2 separate regions of the Homo sapiens genome follow, and region 2 is linked to region 1. Evidence: promoter capture Hi-C in human tissues and cell types (Jung and others, 2019). All regions are on one chromosome and are shown on one strand. Each heading gives the region's core, a stretch centred on a gene start or on the middle of the fragment in contact. The rest is flanking DNA. Distances are from core to core; before and after follow the strand shown.

What was found. The method cuts DNA at HindIII sites, captures the fragments that hold promoters and counts their contacts. A contact is called where the count stands out against the background at its distance.
Region 2: a fragment that was not itself captured here is called in contact with the fragment with the promoter of ZSCAN30 in region 1 in 2 of the 25 tissues and cell types used here (hippocampus and liver).

What each region holds. Positions count from the first base shown.
Region 1 is chr18:35,286,634-35,293,471 of GRCh38, reverse strand. It overlaps ZSCAN30 (zinc finger and SCAN domain containing 30), which reads left to right and starts at 3,243. Exons shown (of 4, transcript NM_001112734.4): 1 at 3,243-3,388. It also overlaps the pseudogene ZNF271P. RefSeq lists an enhancer at 2,967-3,126. The HindIII fragment of the contact is 7,442 bases long and covers 1-5,376 here.
Region 2 is chr18:35,563,793-35,570,630 of GRCh38, reverse strand. No RefSeq gene overlaps it. Among named protein-coding and RNA genes, the nearest start is that of GALNT1, 15 kb to the left of the region's middle. The HindIII fragment of the contact is 9,152 bases long and covers 1-6,838 here.

The DNA of each region.
Region 1 (6,838 bases), core at 1,994-4,493:
TAACTGCTCCCCAGTGTTGTCTGATCCATGGCTGTTCTCCATCCCTTGCTGATTTCTGTAATCATGCCCATCCTCTTCATGAAACTTTGAATTACTGCACTCGAATGAGCCATCTGTTTCCTGCTAGAATCCTCACTGATATATCCCGGTTTAATTTCTCCATAACCATTATCATTATTTGATAATATAATGAGCATTCATTTATTTTCTCCTTCCCTCCACTAGCATGTAAGCACTTTGACAGCAAAGGCTTTGTGTGTTCAGCTCACTGCTATATCCCCAGCACTTAGAACAGTTATTGGCACAGAGCAAACCCTTAATAACTAATATTATATGGCTAGTAATTAATAAGGTATGATCTTATTAGTAAACATTTATCAATAATAAATATTTGGTGAATTAGATGAATGATTTTAAGGATATATTAATGTTAGCAGTGACTATTTCTAGAGGGTGGAGCTGAAGGTTATTTAAATTTTGTTTTGTGTTCTCCTATTCTTTACAAATTGACTTTAGTATAACTGTATTTCTCTATAATAAAATGTTATTTTATACATATTCTAAGAGACATAAACACAAAGACTAAGTATATCAATTTATGCAAAACTGCAAGGAGAAGGTCTAATTCTGCAGTGATTCTCAGGAAAGAGCTGGATGTCTTGGAATAGATTATTAAGGAAGGACAAGTTCTACACATAGGAGAGAAAAACTAAGTAAAATAAAATAAAGATGCTCCAAGACTAAAAAGAAGCAGAAGATCTAGAGTGAGAAAAGGGACAACTGAAGGTGACTCACAGGAAAAACAGCGCAATGAGAGGACAAACCAAAAAGAAGTAACATATGATGTGGAAATGAGACCCTACAGAACACCTGAAAAACGTTGAGATCAAAATTATCTTACTTAAAATAATAGTGGCTACCAATTATAAAGAATTTACTGTAAGCAAAATCTGTGCTCAGAGTTTTACGTTAAGGATCTTGTTTAGTTTTTTTTTTTCTTGGTGTTTTTTTGGAGATCGCATTTTATTCTGTCACCCAAGCTGGAGTGCAGCGGTGCAATCATAAGTCACTGCTGCCTCTGAACTCCTGGGCTCAAGCAATCCTCTCACCTCAGCCTTCTAAATAGCTAGGACTACAGGCACACACACACCACCATGCCTGGCTAATTTTTTAAATTTTTGTAGAAATGGGGTCTCACTTTGTTGCCCAGGCTGGTCCTCAACTCCTGGCTTCAAGCATTCCTCCTGCCTTGGCCTCCCAAAGTGTTGGGATTACAGGTGTGAGCCACTGCACCTGGCCTGTTATAGTATTAGTGTACCCCAGTGAATCCTATCTCCCAGTACCCATATCCCTGTGTAGTTTCCTTCTATAATGACTTTAGAACTGGTCATATGACCTGCTTTCATCAATGAGACATTAACAGATGAAACACATTAACAGATGAAACACAAACATAGGTATGAAAAGAGCTTGCCTTCTCTGACTGGAAACAAGCTGTCCTGTGAAAAAGTCCAGCGTCACCTGCTGAAGACATGAGGACTCAAGCCATAGCCGGCACTAACAGTTTGACATTGAGACAACGTGATTGAAACCATCTTAGACCCTGGCCCCAGTAGAGTCAGCCTTGAGATGACTGCAAAATGACCCCAGAAAAGACCAAGAGAAAAAAAAATGCCCAGGTGAACCCAGCTCAAGTTGATGACCTACAGAATCATAAGAAATAATGTGGTTTAAGAAGTCTGATGTTTTAGGTCACTAAATTTTGGGGTTCTTTATTCTGGAGTAATACATAGATACAAATCTCAAAATAACTTCAAGGTATGAAGTACTATGCACTTGAAAAGTGAGGAAACAGAATCGTAAAATATATGAGTAACTTACTGGAGCCAGTTAAGTGACAAAACTACTGTTTGAATCTAGGTTGTCAGACTCCAGAACTTTTAACTATGCCCCTACAGTAGATAAGAAAAATGACCAAAACTGACAGATTAGCAATGAGGTCATTATACAGGGAAAAATGAATGACTTTGGGGTCTTAAAAAAGTGGAGAGAGCTGCATGAGAATTTGATCGCCAGATTTTGAAATAAAGTCATGTGACTATGCTTGGTACACTAAAGAGGTAATACTGCCTAACAGAGTTAAGGGGGATCATTTGAAGACACTAGCATAGAGTGACACCCCCTCATCCTCCCCACCCCGCCAAAGCCACTAAGAAAGATATAATACCCTGCCTCTCACCTGACAGAAGGTGGTGTTCCTGAGATTCATAATTGAACTGGATCTCCATGGGCTGCAACTGGACACCTCAGTGTGCAAGTGGAGAATTACCATTTCCTCTGTAAGCTTTTCTTGTCCACATAAAGGTCTGGGACCTGGAGGCAACTGGGCACCACTGGGCTTGGAAGGGAATCATTGTGCTGACTACAGATGTAATCTCTGAGACTAGACCACCAGAAAAATCCTCAAGATATAAAAGAAGGAGAAAACAAAAAATCTCATTTGACTTCCAGTTGCTTTTCTCTCAGAATGTATTAGGCTTCCTCCCCATCATCCAAGAGCCAGGGATTAACCCACTTAAGACACACATTCCCCATTCCAAGTCTAGAGATGTTCAAACAAAATTAGGGGTTAATGCTACCAAAAAAAGGTATAACTGGAAAGATAACGCAGAGAGGGGAATTTTACAGTGAATTCTAGTGGTTAACACTATGTTATTCGCTGCCCTTCCTATCCAAAAATGACACTACTGATCATTTTTCTTCCTTTTGCTTTTACAACATTCACAAATTCAGGTGGCTCTTTCCCAGTACGGTAGGCTGATTCGTATGGATGCACCACGGTTGGTGACTCCCCCCACCCCACAGAGTTTCTGGCGTTCATTCGGTTGAACCCAAGGCCAGCAAGGGCTGACTGGGAACAAACCGAACACTAGGCCGTGAACCAATCGTCTCTCCGTGCCCGGGAGCGACCCCGGGGGCCTTCACTCTCCAAGGACTCGAGAAACCATGCACAGTTTCCTGCTCGTTAGGCAAGATCACCCGGAACTCCTCTGCTATCCGCGAGCCGACATCACCCTTACCTCGACTTGGTCACCGGACCGCTGTGAAGCCTCACACCCGGCGAACCTGCCATCGCCCTGTCCGCTCTAGGAATCTGGGAGGAGTGCTCAGCTCTATGGCGCTTCACCGCGCAGGCGCAGGGCGGGGGTGGGGCACCGGGTGACGGAGGGCTGCCGAGAATTAACCCCCGAACCGCCGCGAGCTGTCCCTAGCAGTGCCTTAGCCAGGGACCTGCTTGGCCAGCGACAGATCCTTTGCTGCTCTGTCTGCCGGTTCTTGAGGTGAATGTCGGAATCCATTATCTTTCGGGAAAGCTCTCTGGGGCAGGGTAGGTTTTCTTACTACATACAAGTTCTTAATTAGTTATCGTTTTTTAAATAACCACCCCTCCCCCTATCGCTTATCTGATTCGTAGGTATGCTTTAATTCTAACTTTCTTCCTGTCCTCTCTGGTTTTTCACACCCCCAGAAGAGTAGCGCGCATCAGAATCACCTGGAGGCCTTGTTAAAATACTGACTTCTGCCCCACAACTCCGGAGTTGCTGATTTAGTAGTGGGGGAGGGGGCGGTGGCAGCCCAGGTTCTCAGGTGATCCTGAAGCTGTTGGTCCTGGGACCACATTTTGAGAACCACTGCCCAAGAAATAAGTGATGCTCAGTAATTAATCCCTGAATTAACGGAAAGTTGGATTTTTATCTACTTTGCAATCTAGAAAGGGTACGAGGTCTATTTAAGGTTTGCTTGCTAGAACAATTCTCACTGATCAGGGTGAGAAGGACCCGAAATGGAGGGTGCGGGGTAATCAGGGTAGGAAAGGATATTGCTGTGTTCATGGAAATATCTTGGGAAATGAGGAGTTGGGACCTCATTTCTGTTGAGACCAATGAGACGTGTGACTTGGTTTAAGCTGTCCGGTGGGGAAAGGAAGAGGTTTGAGAAAATGGTGGGTGGCTAAGTGGTAGTTGAGGTGGAGGAAGAGGGCTTCCTGTCCCAGCCCAAGTCCCTGTTGGGATATATGAAATTTAGGGATGTATGACTAAGCCCTTAATATAACCGTAAGAGGAAAGAGATGTGGGAACTTGAGTCCAACCCTCCCAAGTAGGGAGTGCAGATAGTTTTAAAAAAACAGCTTTCTTTTTGGCCAGGCGCAGCTTAGGCCTGTAATCCTAAAACTTTGGGAGGTTGAGGCAGGTGGATCACCTGAGATCAGGAGTTGGAGACCAGCCTGGCCAACAAGGTGAAACCCTGTCTCTACTACAAATACAAAAATTAGCTGGGCATGGTGGTGTGCGCCTTTAATCCCAGCTACTTGGGAGGCCGAGTCAGGAGAATCGCGTGAACCCATGAACCCAGGAGGCGGAGGTTGCAGTGAGCCGAGATTGCGCCACTGCACTCCAGCCTGGGTGACAAAGCGAGACTTTGTCTCAAAACAAAACAAAACAAAACAAAACAAAACAGCTTTATTGAGGTATAACTGACATAAACAGCAAATATTTAAAGGATATAATTTGATAAGGCTTGTTAAATGAATACAGCTGTGGAACTATCACTGCAATCAAAATAATATGTTTATTACATCTAAACCCCAAAAGTTTCCTCCTGCCCGTTGGTAAGCCTCTCTCCCAATGCCCCCTCCACTGGTCAGCTGTTACTAGAGATTAGTTTGCATTTTCTAGATATTTATTTAAATGGAATCATACAGAATGTCCTTGTTTTTGTCAGAGTTGTTTCACTAAGCTTTTATTTTGAGATTTATCTTTATTGCTGTGTGTATCAATAGTTAATTTTTGTTGCTGAATAATATTCCATTGTATGTATATACCACAGTTTGTTTATCCAATCACCAGTTCATGGGCATTTGGGTTATTCCAGGTTTTTACTGTTACAAGTAAAGCTGAGAACATTCATGTACACACGTCTTTATATGGACATATGCTTTTTTCCCCCTCTCTCATGGTAGATGTACATTTAATGTTTAAAAAAACCCACACTACTTTTCAGAGTGGCTGTATCATTTTGCATTCCTAACATGAGTACATGAGAGTTCCGGTTCCTCCACATCCTTACCAACTCACTGTGTATCTCACTGTGGTTTCAATTTGCATTTCCATACTGACTAATAATATTTAGCATTTTGTAATGTGCTTATATGCCATCTGTATATATTCTTTGGTGAAGTATCTGTACAAATCTTTCGTCCATTCTGGACACTAGTCTTTTGTCAAATATATGCTTTGTGGCCAGGTGCCATGGCCCAAGCGTGTAATTCCTGCACTTTTTGTAGGCCAAGGTGGGTGGATTGCTTGAGTCTAGGAGCTGGAGACCAGCCTGGGCAACGCGGTGACACCCTTTCTCCACCCAGAATACAAAAAATTGTCGGATGTGGTGGTGTGTGCCTGTGGTCCCAGCTACTTGGGAGGCTGAGGTGGGAGGATTGCTTGAGCCTGGAAGGTGGAGCTTGCAGTGGGTGGTGATCATGCCACGGTACTCCAGCCTGGGCAACAGAGCAGGACCCTGTTGCAAAAAAAAAAAAAAAGAAGAGGAAGAAGATATATGCTTTGCAAATATATTGTGCCTTCAGTTTTCTTTCTGTTAATATTTTTTGAATAGCATCAGTTTTAAGTTTTGATGAAGCACAGTTTATCAATTGGCTCTTTTATGGATCATGCTTTTTGTATGATATTTGAGAAATCTTTGCCTAAAATAAGTTCACCAAGATTTCCTCCAGGATTTTTAGGTTTTACATTTTGGTCTCTGATCCATCTGGAATTAATTTGTTTCTACCCATACAACTCTGAGATTTAGGGTAAAGTTAATTTTTTTTTTTTTTTTTTTTTGGTATGTGGATATTCAGTTGTTCTGTACCATTTCTTTCTCCTCTGAGTTTCCTTTAAGCTTTGTAAAATCAGTTATCCATATATGTGTGGGTCTATTTCTGGCCTCTCTATTTTTTCATTGATCTACTTGTCTCTTTAGTCCAACACCACACTTAATTACTCTAGCTTTATAATAAGGCTTGAAATCAGGTAGTGTGAGACCTCTAATTTTGTTGTTTTGGTTATTCTAAGCCCATTGCATTTCCATATCAATTTCTGAATCAGTTTGTCAACTTCTACAAAGAAGCTATCTGAGATTTTGATTGGGATTGGATTGAATCTGTAGATCAATATGGGGAGAATTGACATGTTAAAGCAATATTGAGTCATCTGATCCATGAACACAATATTTTTCTCAATTTATTTAGGTCTTCCTTAATATCTCTCACCAATATTTTATAGTTCTTTTTAATATTTTACAGATCTTTCATAACTTTTGACAGATCTATTCCTAAGTATTTAATATATTTTGATGCTATTGTATTTTTCCTTTAATTTCAGATTGTTTGTTGGTAATATAATAGAGAAATACAATTGATTTTTGTATATTAATCTTGTATCTTGCAACTTTGTTAAATTCATTTATTAGTTCTAGTAGCTGTTTTTGTAGATTCTATCAGATATTCTACATATGAGATCAGTTTTACTCCTTCCTTTCCAATCTGGATGCCTTTCTTATTTTCAGCGCAGTAAGGCAGGCAAAGGGAGGTGGAGAAAGGCATTCAGATTGGAAAAGAAGAAGTAAAATTGATCTTTATGTATATCAGTGTTCGGTAGAAATGAAGAAAGGGGAAATCTTTGTCTTTTTTCCAATCTTAAGTGAAGATCTTTGTCTTTTTTTTTAATCTTAAGCATCCTTTCTCTGTTAAGCATGATGTTAGCTGTGGTTTTTTTTATTGGTA
Region 2 (6,838 bases), core at 2,769-5,268, 280 kb before region 1:
TCCTTGTCTCCAATAAAAGAAAACAAGGAATATTCTAGAGAAATTGATATTTTAAAGCATAGAAAAAGAGCTTACTTCTTTTATGCTGAAGCCTTGAGATCCCTTAAAATCATATTTCCCAGTCCTTAGTGTGATTCAGAATTCTCCAGAGATGCTTGTTAAAAATATAGTTCTCTGAGCTCCACCCTTAGGAGTATCTTGGGGCAGGTAGAGCTGGCTCTATCCACTCCCATTCCTGGAGACCTTCCAAGAAAGTCTCAGTTTTTTGATAGATCTCGTTCCAGAAATTAAAAACCTAAAGATCTGTATTGCAAAAGGATAACTGCATGCACTTGCCAAACAGTTGCCACCCACCCCACCCTCAAAAGGTGTTGCCGTGTTCAGAAGGCCTTACAATGTTTATATTTCTTTGGGTATCTGTTAGTAACTTAGATAACTAACTGATGTTGACTAAGTTAGATGAGATAGGACATTAAAAATTGTCCTTTGAGAGTTTTCTTTTCTTTTCTTTTTGAGACAGCATTTCGCTCTTGTTGCCCAGGCTGGAGTGCAATGGCACAATCTCGGCTCACTGCAACCTCCTCCTCCCAGGTTCAAGCAATTTTCCTGCCTCAGCCTCCCAAGTAGCTGGGATTACAGGCATGCGCCACCACGCCTGGCTAATTTTTGTATTTTTAGTAGAGACAGAGTTTCACCATGTTGGCCGGGCAGGCCTTGAACTCCTGGCCTCAGGTTATCCACCTGCCTCAGCCTCCAGAAGTACTGGGATTACAGGTATGAGCCACCACACTCCAGCCCCTTCAGGAGTTTTCTTAATGTATCTTCTCAGACAAATGATTGGAAGACAAATCTTAAAGCAGAGGAAGTTGAAATCCTAATAATGGACTTTGTGTGTGTGTGTGTGTGTGTGTGTGTGTGTGTGTGTGTGTGTGTGCATGTGTCTGTATGTGTATGTGACACATATACCCTAGCATACACATAATCACACTCAGACATATACACACATGTGCACCAGACTTTTATTGTAGATATGATAATTCATATTCAGAAGGAAATGTCAGATGTTTGAAGTCAAGGAAATGTCAGATTTGAACTTCTCAATAGATGGAGAATTCAGTGACTCTGGATGTCACTTATTCTACTTTTGTTAGTTCCCTTAGCGATTTCTTCCTTACATTGACAGGAAATCTGTATCCTTTAGTTTCACCTTAACATCTATTAATATTTTATCTGACTTTAATACAGTTAGACACCTAGTTTTCTATTTTGATATTTTTTCCCTGTCCTTTCATTTTCAACTCTCCATGCCTTGTTTTAGGTATGTCTCTTTAAGATGGCATATAATGGATTTTTAAAAATCTATACAATAAATTTTGTCTTCAAAACTGAGCTTATTCTACTTTTAATTATATTTGAATTTATTTCTTGTACTTTTATGGTTTCTATTTTTCTTATGTTTTCAGTTTTTATTTCTTCCATCTTTCCTTAATTTAAAAATTCATTCAAGGCTAGGCACGGTAGCTCATGCCTGTAATCCCAATACCTTGAGAGGCTGAGGTGGGAAGAATGATTGAGCCCAGGGCAACACAGCAAGACCCCCATCTCTACAAAAAATAAAAAACTTAGCTGGGTATGGTGGCGTGCACCTGTAGTCCCGGCTAGCTGAGAGGCTGAGATGGGAGGATGGCTTGAGCCCAGGAGTTTGAGGCTGCAGTGAGCTATCACACCATTGTATGCCAGCCTGGAAGACTGAGTGAGACCCTATTTCTAAAAAAAAAAAAATTAGAGTCATTCAGCCTTTTTTCTTTCACTTTATTTTTATGCATTTAGTAGTTTGGAGATTATATACTCTATTTCTTCTAGAAAGTTTAATAATATTTATATTTATTGATAATTTATTGGTTTAATTGCTAACCATTTCTTCATGTATCTCAGACCAAAATTTTAATTAGTAAACTATCTTTTGTTCCTGGCTGCTTTTTAAAAAACTTTTTATTTCATAATAATTACAGATTCACAGAAAGCTACAAAAATAGAAAAGAGGGGCCCTTTGTACCCTTCCCCGCAGTTTTCCCCAATGGTTACATGTTACTTAACTATAATACAATGGCAAAATGAGGAAATTGATATTGGCACATTGTGTATATATAGTTCTATCTCATTGTATCACATGTGTAGATTTCTGTAAGCATCACTCAGTAGTTTCAAGATACAGAATGATTTTATTATGACAGAGATCTCCCTTATGCTACCACTTAACAGCCACACCCAAACCTCCTACCATCACTAACCCCTGGCAACTATTAATCTGCTCTCCATCTCTATAATTTTATATTTTTGAAAATATTACATAACTGGAATCATGCTGCATGCTATGAATTGAATTATGTTTAACCTCAATGTGACTGTATTATTAACACTCAATGTGACTGTGTTTGGAAATACAGCCTTTAATGAGGTTAAACAAAGAGACACCAGGGAACTTTTCTCTCTCTCTCTCTCTCTCTCTCTCTCTCTCTCTCTCTCTCTCCCCTCCCTCTCTCTCATTCTCTCTGCCATATGAGGGCAGGGAAACAGTGATTTTCTGCAAGCCAGGAAGAGAGCTTTCACCAGAAATCTACCCTGCTGGGCCTTGATCTGGGATTTCTAGCCTCCAGACTGTAAGAAAATACATTTTTATTGTTTACACCCCTCAGTCTATGGTATTTTGTTATGGCAACTAGCACAGACTCATGCCTCATTTTGTACCTTGGCTTTTCACTCAGCCTAATATTCTTGAAATCTAATCAAGTTTCTGGGTGTTTCAATAATTTGTTCCTTTTTATTGCTGACTTATATTTCACCTGACCGTTTTTAAGAGCTTCAATTTGTCTTTGGTGTTCTGCAGACTAGTATGATATGTCCAGGTGTTAATTTCTTTTCTTTTCTTCTTTTTAAGTTATTCTTGGAACTTGTTGCACTTCCTGAATTTGAGAATTGGTATCATTAATCAATTCTGAAAAATACTCAGCCATTATCTCTTCTGATATGGCCTCTCTCCTATTCTCTTTCCTTTCCTTTTGGAACTCTGATTAGACTTATTAAATGTTCTCACTCTATCCTTGATATCTCTTAACTTTTCTTGTATATTTTCCATCTCTGCATCTTTTTGTTGTATTCTGGGTCATATCTTCAGATTTATATCCCAGTTCACTTATTCTTTCCTGTAGTCTAATTCATCCTTTGAGTTTTTAATATCAATTATTATTTTATAAAACTTTATGATGATATAATTCTTATACCAAAAATAATTTTTAAAGTATAGAATTTTAGTGTTTTTCAGTGTATTCACAGATTTGCGCATCTACCACCACCATTAACATGCAGAACATTATCATCAACCGCAAAAGAAACTCCATATTTATTGGCAGTCATTCCCCATTCTCCTCGTCTCCCAACCCCTAGAAATTACTAATCTACTGTCTATTTTTATAGCTTTGCCTATTCTGGAAATTTCATATAAAAGGAGTACTATAATATATGTAGCCTTTTGTGTCTGGCTTTTTTTCATTCAGCATGAGGTTTGCAAGATCCATTTTGCATGGGTACTTTATTTCATTTTATTGCAAGGTAATATTCTATTGTATATGCCACATTCCACACCACTGTTTGTTAACCATGCTTCAGTTGATGGACATTTGGGTTGTTTCTACTTTGGCACTGCTATGAACATTTAGATGTACAAGTTTGTGTGTAGTTTTGAATTATCTTGTTTGTATGCATGAGAGTAGAATTGCTGGGACATGCAGTAGGTAACTCTATGTTTAATCAGTTGAGGAACTGCCAAACTGTTTCCTAAAGTGGCTGCAGGATTCAACATTCCCACCAGCAATGTGTGAGAATTTAAGTTTTCCTACATCCTTGCCAACACATATTACTTCCATTTTTTATATTAGAGCCACCATAGTTGGTGTGAGGTGGTAGTATCTCATTGTGTCTCTGATTAATAATTTGCTAACGAATATTTTTGCGTGTGCAGATACACACAAATTCCTTTTGAATTGTCTTGGCATCTTTTTCAAAAATCAGTAAATGTAAGGGGTAATTTCTGGAGTCTCAGTTCTATTCCATTGATTTGTATGTCTATTCTTATACCACACTGCACTGATTACTATAGCTGTATAGTAAGCTTTGAAATCAGGAAGTGTGAATGCTCCAATTTTATCCTTATTTTTCAAGATAATTTGGCTATTCTGGATCCCTTCCATTTCTATACGAGTTTTTGGATTAATCTTTCGAAATTCCTAAGATTTTGATAGGGGATGTATTTAGTTTGAATATCAGTTTGAAGATTATTGCCACTTTACCAATACTGAGTCTTCCAATCCATGAGCATGTGATGTCTTTATAGTGATTTGGGTCTAATTTTATTTATTTATTTATTTATTTATTTATTTATTTATTTATTATTTTTTTGAGACAGAGTCTCGCTCTATCACCTAGTCTGGAGTGCAGTGGCACGATCTTGGCTCACTGCAACTGCCACCTCCCAGGTTCAACCTCCCAGGTTGTAGCTGGGGTTACAGGTGCACACCACCAGAACTGGCTAATTTTTTCTGTTTTTAATAGAGATGGGGTTTCGTTTTGTTGGCCAGGCTGGTCTTGAACTCCTGGCCTCATGTGATCCACCTGCCTCAGCCTCCTAAAGTGGTGGGATTACAAGCATGAGCCACCACACTTGGCCCTAATTTAATTTCTTTCAATGATGTTTTGTAATTTTCAGTGCACAAGTTTTACTCCTCCTAAGTTTATTTCTAAGTATTTTATTCTTTTTGATGCTATTATAAACATAATATTTCCAAATTTTACGTTCAGATTGCCCATTGCTTACATATAGAAATATAATTGCTTTTTGTATATTGATACTGTATCCTGCAATCTTGTTGATTTTATATAATTTTACTTCTTCCCTTCCAATCTGAATGTTTTATGTTTCTTTCTTGCTTAATTGCTGTGGCTGGAACTTCCAATATATCATGTTGAATAGAAGCAGTGAGAGCGGATATCCTTGTCTTGTTCCTGATCCTAGGGGGAAAATACTCAGTTTTTCACCTTTAAATACATTGTTAGCTATGTGTTTTTCATGGATGGCCTTTATCAGATTGAGGAATTTCTCCTTTATCCCTAGAGTTTTTTTTTTTTTTTATGAAAGGATGGGTTTTGTGGAATGTTTTTCTATGTCTATTGAGATGATCATGTAGTTTTTGCCCCCTTACTCTACTAATATGACATGTTACATTGATTGATTTTCATATGGTAAGCCAAGCTCACATACTGTGATAAATCCCACGTGGTCATGATGTATAATCCTTTCTATATGCTGCTGAAATCAGTTTGCTGGTATTTTGATGGGGATATTTCAGTCTGTATTCAAAATTGGTCTGTAGCTTTCTTGTGATGTTTTTGTCTAGTTTCGGTGTCAGGGAAATTCTGGTCTCAGAGAGTAAGTTGGGAAGTATATACCAATTCTAATTTTTACAAGAGTTTGTGAAAAACTCATGTTAATTCTTTCTTAAAAGCTCAGTAGAGTCCAGTAGTTTAGCCATGTGGGTTGGGCTTTTCTGTGTGGTTAGTTTTTGGTTTGTTTGTTTCTTCATTTGTTTTGTTGTTGTTGTTAATAGATAATTCAATCGCTTTACTTCTTGTCTCTCTGCTCAGACTTCCTCTTTCATTTTGAGACAGTTTTGATAGTTTGTATGTTTCTAGAAATTTGTTCTTTTAGGTAACCTAACTTGTTGGCATGCAATTATTCATAGTATTTCCTTAAATTCCTTTTTATTTATTGAAGATCAATAATGATATCTCATCTTTCATTCCTGATTTTAGCAATTTGAGCCTTCTATCTTTTTCTCTTGGTCAGTCTAGCTAAAGTTTTGTCAATTTTTAAAAATCTTTTCAAATCAATGACTCTTTTGGGGGCAATACTTAATCCAAAAGGATGAATGGATAATGATGTAACTTTAGGTGACAATTTTAGAGCTTGGTTAGAAGAGTATTTACATTAAATATAAAACAGTAACATTATTTTGGGGAAATTTCTAACATTTACCTGAGAGCATTGGTGAAAGGAAATCGTATTTTACTGTCATTTACTGAGATTCTGGGTACAGAGAAGTCTCCTTTGGCTATAAATAGGAAAGAGATACCAGTGAACTTATTTTAAAAAAGGAAACTTTTGGTGATTATCTCCATTATCTTTCTATTCTTTATTTATTTCTCTCTCTACTCTTTATGATTTTTTTTCCTTCTGCTTCTTTGGGTTTAGTTTGCTCTTCTTTTTCTAATATCTTAAGGTAGAATATCAGGTTCTTAATGTGGATTTTTTTCTTTTTTTTTAAATATAGACATTTATCAGTATACATTTCCCTCTAAGCATTAATTTCACTGCATCCCAGAAACTTCGGCATATTGCATTTTTATTTTCATTCATTTTCTAATTTCCCTTGTGATTTCTTCTTTGACTCTTTAGTTACTTAGAAGAATATTGTTTAATTTCTACATATTTGTGAACATCTCCAATTTTTTTCTGTTATCAGTTTTTAATTTCATTCCATTGTGGTCAGAGAATCTATTTCATATAATTTCAAAATTGATTTTTAAATTTATTGGGGCTTGGCTGGGCGCGGTGGCTCACGCCTGTAATCCCAACACTTTGGGAGGCCAAGGTTGGTGCATCATCTGAGGCCAGGAGTTCGAGAGCAGCCTGGCCAACATGGCGAAACCCCATCTCTACTAAAAATACAAAAATTAGTGGGGTGTGGTGGCTTGCACCTGTAGTCCCAGCTACCCGGGAGGCTGA